2 separate regions of the Homo sapiens genome follow, and region 2 is linked to region 1. The links are contacts of gene promoters, found by promoter capture Hi-C in blood cells and fetal thymus (Javierre and others, 2016). All regions are on one chromosome and are shown on one strand. Each heading gives the region's core, a stretch centred on a gene start or on the middle of the fragment in contact. The rest is flanking DNA. Distances are from core to core; before and after follow the strand shown.

What was found. Contacts are between HindIII fragments. The CHiCAGO score rates a contact against its expected background, and 5 or more counts as called.
Region 2: a contact is called between the fragment with the promoter of RAB40A here and a fragment that was not itself captured in region 1, in 12 of 17 cell types (total B cells, total CD4 T cells, naive CD4 T cells and 9 more). The highest score is 14.6, in total B cells.

The regions. Positions count from the first base shown.
Region 1 is chrX:103,816,787-103,821,086 of GRCh38, forward strand. It overlaps a transcript of RAB9B not described here. Among named protein-coding and RNA genes, the nearest start is that of RAB9B, 13 kb to the right of the region's middle. The HindIII fragment of the contact is 2,330 bases long and covers 1,073-3,402 here.
Region 2 is chrX:103,517,644-103,521,943 of GRCh38, forward strand. RAB40A (RAB40A, member RAS oncogene family) reads right to left here and starts at 1,846. Exons shown (of 3, transcript NM_080879.3): 1 at 1,727-1,846. It overlaps LL0XNC01-250H12.3 (a long non-coding RNA gene), which reads left to right. Exons shown (of 6, transcript NR_188440.1): 6 at 5-300. The HindIII fragment of the contact is 4,467 bases long and covers 921-4,300 here.

The sequences.
Region 1 (4,300 bases), core at 988-3,487:
TTCTCAAAAGAAGACATTTATTCAGCCAACATACATATAAAAATGCTCATCATCACTGGTCATTAGAGAAATGCAAATCAAAACCACAATGAGATACCTTCTCAAGCCAGTTAGAATGGCAATCATTACAAAGTTAGGAAACAACAGATGCTGGAAAGGTTGTGGAAAAATAGAAACGCTTTTACACTGTTGGTGGGAGTATAAATTAGTTCAACCATTGTGGAAGATGGTGTGGCAATTCCTCAAGGATCTAGAACTAGAAATACCTTTTGACCCAGCAATTCTATTACAGGACATGTACCCAAAGGATTATAAATCATTCTGTTATAAAGACACATGTACACGTATGATTATTGTGGCACTATTCACAGTAGAAAAGACTTGGAACCAACCCAAATGTCCATCAATGATAGACTGGATTAAGAAGATGTGGCACATATACACCATGGAATACTATGCAGCCATGAAAAAGGATGAGTTTGTGTCCTCTTGTGGGACATGGATGAAGCTGGAAACTATCATTCTCAGCAAACTATCACAAGATCAGAAAACCAAACGCCGCATGTTCTTACTCATAAGTGGGAGTCGAACAATAAGAACACGTGGACACAGGGAGGGGAACATCACACACTGTGGCCTGTCAAGGGTTGGGGGCTAGGGGAGGGATAACATTAGGAGAACTACCTAATGTAGGTGATGGGATGAAGGGTGCAGCAAACCACCATGGCACGTGTATACCTATGTTACAAATGTGCACGTTCTGCACATGTAACCCAGAAATTAAAGTATACATATAATATATATATATACTCTCTCTATATATACTATATATATGCACACATATATATAAGTTTAGTCTATGGCGGAACACTAACCGGTCTTTATTGCCCCCTTGTGGTTGAAAGTGGAACTGTTTCTATCTCTGCATTTATATTTAACACAAGGCTTCAGAATAATCTGATTATTACAGCAGTAGACTCAATTCAAACCAGTCATTTGACATCATGCAATTAAAGCATCTGGATGAATGAATATTTTTTATTTCTAGCAATTCTTTTATCATGGTGACCAAAGCTTAGATTCATAACCTTTCTAAACAAAAGTAGTCTCGAGTATAATCAGAAACAAAGGACAAATCAAATAAGCACCTCTCTTTCCCCAACCCACCAGTTTTCTAATTTATCAGAACATAACCTTTTCTATAATATGGCAGTATATTTTTAAAATACCATAAACAAAATTAAAAGGCAAGATCTATGGGAGGGGATTGCAGAAAACTAGCAATGTGGATAAGATCAAAGGTTAATACCCACAATATAAAAAAAGATTTCCTTGGAATCAATAAGAAACAAAAATGAATGTTCCCCAACCCCCATAAGGGTCCATTCACTCAAGGAAAAATAAAAATGGCCAATGAATGTATAAACAATTACTCTCAAAAAATTAAATAAATGTAAATGACAGCATGAGATCATTTTTTCACCCATCAGACTGCACATATGGGGTTAAAAAGGAAGATAATAGTCCATACGTTTGGGTGTTGGAAAGATAGTCTTCCTCTTATTCTACTGGTGTTGATGTCATTTGGGATAAGTTTCTAGAGGCCAATTTGCCAGTATATATTAAAATTAATAAAAAATTCATAATCTTTGACCTAGAAATTTTACTAGTAGGAAATAAACAGAGGTGAGAGTTAAGATTGATATTAAGGAACTTCACTGATGCTTTATTTTATGAAAAGAAGGCAGCTGTAAAACAACCTAAATGTCTAGCAATAAGTGTTTTATTAAAAGTTTAGCAATATGGGTAATTGTGGTAAACCCTTCAATACAATATTATGCAAACAGCAAATATAATCTTAGAAGAATATATGTCTTAGAGAAAAGTTAAGTACTATAGATATATATTAAGTAAAAAAGATTACAGTGTGTGCAGTATCAAATCAATTTTAAAAATACATAAATATATTAAAATCTACACTAAAATGTTAAAATCTGCTTATCTCAGGTTAATAGGATTACATTACAGATGACTTTAATTTTTTAAATCTTGCTTTTCTATTTCTTTCATTACTTCATTTTTCTACGGTGGATGTGTATGGCTTTTGTAATCAGAAAAAAAGAACATTTTAAAGCATTTATCGGTCACTCTAAGTTTTCTAGCAGGGAACAAATGGAAAAAGAGAGAACTCAGAGGCTACTGGCACTTGTTCATCTATTAACAGACTCTATGTTGAGCAATATATTACAGGACACACCCTTGGATATGTCGTTTCTAAGGCAGCCAGGAACAACGTAAGAGAAAAGAGATGATATGAGCCTGTTTCTTGCTTCCTCATGAATGCACCACAGGAAAGTGTGATTTGTATTTTTACTCTAATCAATATAGCTAATGTTGAATTAAGAGCTATTTCTTTCATTAAGGCAGCATTTCCCAATTCTTTTTATCAATCAGTTAACTAGATGTGGCACAGCTTGGCAGGTCTGATTAAAATTCAGGAGTGTTATAGTGAGACCATTATACATTTACCCATAGTTCATACAGCACGAAAGGAACTGACAGATTACTTAAAAATACACATGCTTGCACACACAAAACCCACTGTTTAAAAAGACATTTATATATAACTGAATCATCATTCTCTGTGTTTCCTTGGAGAAGGCAAAGAGATTTATGAAGACACAAAGATCACTGCAGCAGTTTCTATATGACTACAGGTGACGACGCCACATCTTGAGCTGTGAAGATGCTTATTTTCACTGGGAAAATATTAAGTAACTTCTTGCCCCCTTAAAAAAAAACCCTTTCACACATTATTACCACTACCATCACTAGCAGAATAAGAGATCCTTGCTCACCAGTTTTGGCAAGCATATCAGTAAGAAGGCATTTAATAATTTTTCCTTTATTCCATAAACATGCCTAGCTTTTGTCATTATCCCTTCCTTCTCTTAAAGAGAAAGTAGTAAAGAATGAGAGCTCTTTTGGTGATGGAAACTTGAGGAAATTAAAATGACCAGTTTGGAAAAAGAAAACATTAGTGAATATCCCAAATCATGCACATTAACGTTTTATCAAAAGGTGTATGCTATGCTCTGAATCTTTTTGTCCCCCTCCAAAATTCATAGGTTGAAATCCTAACCCCCCAAGGTTATGGCATTATAAGGAGATGGGGCCTTTGGAAGGTGATTAGGTCACAAGGGTGAAGCCCTCATAAATGGGATTAGTGTCCTTATAAAAGAGGCCCAGGAGAAACCCCTTCCCCCTTCCACAGAGCTGGAAGGTGCCATCTGTGAACCAGAAATCAAGACCTCACCAGACCCTGAATGTGCGGATGCCTTGATTTTGGACTTCCTAGCCTCCAGAGCTGAGAAATGAAATTCTGTAGTTTATAGCCTACCAAGCTTATGGTATTTTGTTAGGGCAGCCCAAATGGGCTAAGACAGTATATTACAGTTTATCTGCCCTAAAATCAAGTGTAAGAAAAACACTGCACTGTAGTAAATTTTACATTTCCACAGCAAAGAGAGAAAAAAAGTGAAATGATTATCTAGATCACTGAGGAAAAAAAATTGCTGCAAGATCTACTTTGGGTAATTCAAATGAAAGTAGAGATGTCCATCCCACCTCCCAGCTTGAAATTACTCAAATTGATACCTCGATTTTCCAGTGTGTTTTAAAACTACAGTTACAAGATGGAAGACAAATTATGTATTCCACACCTTCCTGTTTCTGGAAGGACTATCGCCAAACCATTTCCAAAAAATGAGACCGTACTGTTTCTTAAGACATCATGAGGAGATTTCCCACTGGGTTATGAATGAGGCAGAAAAACATTAAAGACAGGAAGTTGGCATTCTGTTTTTAAAATATCAGTTATGGGCCCCGGTGCATTGGCTCACACCTGTAATCCCAGAACTTTGGGAGGCCAGGTGGGTGGATCACTTGAGGCCAGGAGTTCAAGACCAGCCTGGCCAACATGGTGAAGCCCTGTCTCTACAACAAATACAAAAATTAGCCAGGTGTGGTGGCGGGCGCCTGTAATCCCAGCTATTAGGGAGGCTGAGGCATGAGAATCGCTTGAGTCCGGGAGGCCGAGGTTGCAGTTAGCCAAGATCAGGCCACTGCACTCCAGCCTGGGCAACAGAGCAAGACCCTGTCTCAAACACACACACACACACACACACACACACACATACACACACACACACACACACACACACACACAAAGTTAGCTGGGCATGCTGGTGCATGCCTGTAATCCCAGCTACTCAGGAGGCTGAGGTGGAAGGACTGCTTA
Region 2 (4,300 bases), core at 596-3,095, 300 kb before region 1:
ATAGGGCACAATTATTTTATCTTGGAACCAACAATCTTCGGAGAATGTATCCCAAAGATACAATTCAAAAAGATAAAAAGGCAGAAGCACAAGGTCATTCTTGGCAGAACAAATTGTAACAGCAGAAGACTGGAAATAAGACAGATGTCCACCAATAAAGGACTGACTGAATAATCTAAGGTGCATCTACATCCTAGATTTCAATGCCGGTATAACAAGCAAGGAAGATTCCCTCTCTCTGCTGCTATGTAGTGATTTCCAGGATATACCATTAAGTGAATAAAGCAAAGTGCAGAAAAATGTGTAGAGCTGCTGTTGTCCCATACCATACCCACTGGCCACTCATGGCTATTTAAGTTAACTAAATTTAAATGGAATTTTAAATTCACTTCCTCAGTCACACTCACCACATTTTAGGTGTTTAATAGTCACAGGTAGCTAGTGGCTACTATGTTGGACAGTTGAGACATAGAATATTTTCACCTTTGTAGAAATTCTATTGGACTCCACCAGTGTAGAATATGTCACCTTATATATATGGAATAGGAGAAAACTAATAGAAACATTCTATTTGCTTATATTTTTAAAATTGGAAAGTTTTAATGAAAATTGATTTAAAAAATCATTACCTATAAAGAGAAGGAAAAACAGCCCAGGACAGAAGCCAATAATGTCTTTTCCCTTAAAAATATAATATATATACACTGGCTCCATGCACTAGAAAGGTGAAGAAACATGATAGACCCAGTAGCAATGAGCAACTCTAGTGCCCATATTGAATCCACTTAAAACACATCACACTGAAAGGAACTAGGTTATCTTAGAGAAATGACTGAGTTTAGGTCTGTGTAGCCATTCTACTAGATGAATCTGGACCAAACTATCATGCCAGAGAGTGCGTCAAAAAGACTCAGAAGCCAAGCTTAAGGGGCTCTCGCTGGACAAAGATGAAGCAATTTGAACATTAAATAAAATAATGACTACTATGGATTAAAACACATTATAATATAAAAACTTCTACAGCTCATGATGACACTCTAAAAGAAAAATAAAATAAAACAAACAATATCAACTCATTGCTTGCCTTTGGAGAACCCTAGGGAAACAACTCATTGTTTTGAAAAGTGGAAATATTGCAAAAGAATTAGGCACTCATCCAACCCTTTCTATACATACTATCCCTCAGTGTAACCTAATGGTTTATGAAAGTTTATTTAATAGAATAATTCCAGCTAATAAAGCAGAGAAAATTATAGAATTAGAATATCATCCTTTTATGACCTTTAATGAATATAGAACTAAGCAACAATCCTTAGACGCTGCAGAAAAATCGAGGTGAAAAAGGGATGGGAAATTTTATAATGGATGGATCAGCTTAACAATACTTGAACATAGTAATTAATCTTAACATCACAAGAGGAGAGACAATTAGACACAATGAGCCCCCTGTGTAACACTATAGGAATAAACAATACCACATATGAAGTACTTCTGACCAAAACAAATCTAAATTGAATCAAGCCTCTGAATCTAACACCATTTTGTTAAATTTTTTTATTATACTTTTAAGTTCTGGGATACATGTGGAGAATGTACAGGTTTGTTACATAGGTATACACGTGCCATGGTGGTTTGCTGCACCCATCAACCCGTCATCTACATTAGTTATTTCTCCTAATGGTAATATAAAAAGAGAAAGAAATACTTGGAATTTGATTTGGAAAACCTTTCTCCTGTAGCCAGTCCACCTCCATGTGCTTGATACAGTTGACACTTCTTACCCTACAGGAGATTATTCAGCCTATCAGCCAATCTAGAAAATAAAATCATGAGGATCCATGTTTGGTGGTATAGGAACTATTAAGTTTATATTGGAACATTTTGCAAAACATGTTAAAATTAAGTTAAAATGAATGTGGCTCGAAATTAGGATTGTAAGATTTCGGATTTCAACTCAGTTTCCACAGAGAAGTTTGGTTGACCTAAATTTTAAATATGTTAGGAATAAGCCCCTGCTGCACATCATTATATTCAAAGTTCTCTGTAGCTTCATTTGTGAAAACAAATGGATGAATGGGTATATATTTGTAAAACATGTCTTTGGGATAAAAAGGCATTTTGAGTTCTTGGTTTTCAGGATGTTCCTTCTGGTATTCTTCAAATAAATGCTTCTATAGTATTATAAAGATAATTTCATTAACCTGCTAAAATGGGAATGTATTTGTCTATAGCTACAAGGTAAAAAGTGTTATGAATAATAATTTTAAGATGACAGATATTAAATAGTTCAAATATTATTGATAATAAGATTTTTTTAAAAAAGAAAATATATGTTCATCCAAAAGAATGAACATGAACATTCATAACACCATTATTCATGAGATGTCAAAAACTGGAAAATACACAAATCTCCATCACAGATAAATATAGTGTGAAATATCCAAATAATATAATACTTTACACCAATGAGAATAAGCAATCTACAATATAGACCACAATAAATATTAATTTCACATACATTATGTTGACTGAAAGAAGCAAGACACAAAAGAGCACATGCTGTATGATTCCAAGAATTTCTCTTCTAACCTCCCAATAGAGATTGGGGCAGGAGAGGAATATCAACAACTCATTTCCTTTTATTTCAAGGTACTTAGTGTCTTTTTATGTTATCTGTAGCTTAACCTCAGATAAGTGAAGCAACTTTCTTCTGAGCCCTTGAAAAGTGATTAATTACACATAAGATGAAAAGCTAATACTATATCTGATGGACAGGCAATGTGGTGTGAGAGATTCGGGCAAGAATCCTAAATGGATGCTCAGTCTGCACCAAATCACACCGCAGTCACTGAGTCACCATGGTAACCATTCTGGCCAAGGAAAGCTGAGAAAAAACAAACACCACTATCCCGAGCTTGTTCCTAATATGTACTAGGAACTAAATAGGATTGACATGATGCACAGTAATTAACCTCAAGTAGTCCTTACAATAAAAATTCCTGACAGCTTCAGTGACATACAAATGTATACATACTCACATACATATATGCTTGCTCACCCTCTCACCACTCCAAATTCCAAGAATTTATTGAGGTTGATTTACTGGTGGGTAAAGAAGTAAATCTCGCCAGGCATGGTGGCTCGTGGCTATAATCCCAGCTACTCAGATGGCTGAGGTAGGAGGATTGCTTGAGGTTAGGAGTGTGAGAGAAGTCTAAACAACATAGCAAAACTCTGTCTCTGAAAAATGTTTTTAAGTTTAGCTGAGCATGGGGGCACACACCTGTAGTCAGTTATTCAGGAGGCTGAGGTGAGAGGATTGCTTGAGCCTGGGAGTTCAAGGCTGCAGTGAGCTATGATTGCACCATTGCACTCCAGCCTGAGCCACACATTGCAACAAAATCATTTCTGACCACACATATAAAGTTGAAAGCTACTAAACTATGTTCTTTTGGTGTGATTTCTGAAGATGACCTGTAGAATTGTCTCTGGAACATTTTCCTCCATAGTTTCAATATATCGCCAATGACTTGTAAAAGCAGATACGGAAATACAGGTAAACACAGGTTAAGGATCAAATACCTTTTCCATCCTAGAGTAAGCTGTGCTTTCAACCAAAAAAATGCCTCACTGATGTTAAACACTTGGTTGCTGATAGTACTGTGAAAATATAGTAATTAGCAATTGTGTTTAACAAACAAAGCCATGTATAGCATCATCAAGAGTATGAAATATTTATGAACAATCTGTCCACAGATGTGCAGTGCCTGTACACTGAACACCACACATCATTGCTGAGAGAATTAAAGACCTAAATAAGTGGAGGACTTACCATGCTCATGGGTCACAAACAATACTGAGAAGATTCAGTATTGTTAAGATGTCAATTCTTCCAAAACTGATCTATAGATTCAGAGCAATTCAAATGGAAATCCTATTAAAAAATTTTTAAAGAAACCGACAGGCTGATTCTAACATTCATATGGACATGTAAAAGACCTAGACTCTATTAGTCTGTTCCCATATTGCTAAAAACAAACACATGAAACTGGGTGATTTATTTTAAAAAAGGGGTTTTCATGGCTTACGGTTCTGCAGGCTATATAGGAACCATAGAGGCATCTGCTTCTGGAGAGGCCTCAGGGAGCTTTAACTCATGGCGAAAGGTAAAGCGGAAGCAGGCGTTTTACATGGCAGGGAAGGTGCTACACACTTGTAAACAACCAGATCTTATGAGAATTCTATTATGAGAACAGAACCAAAGGGAGAAATCCACTCTCACGATCCAATCACCTCCCAC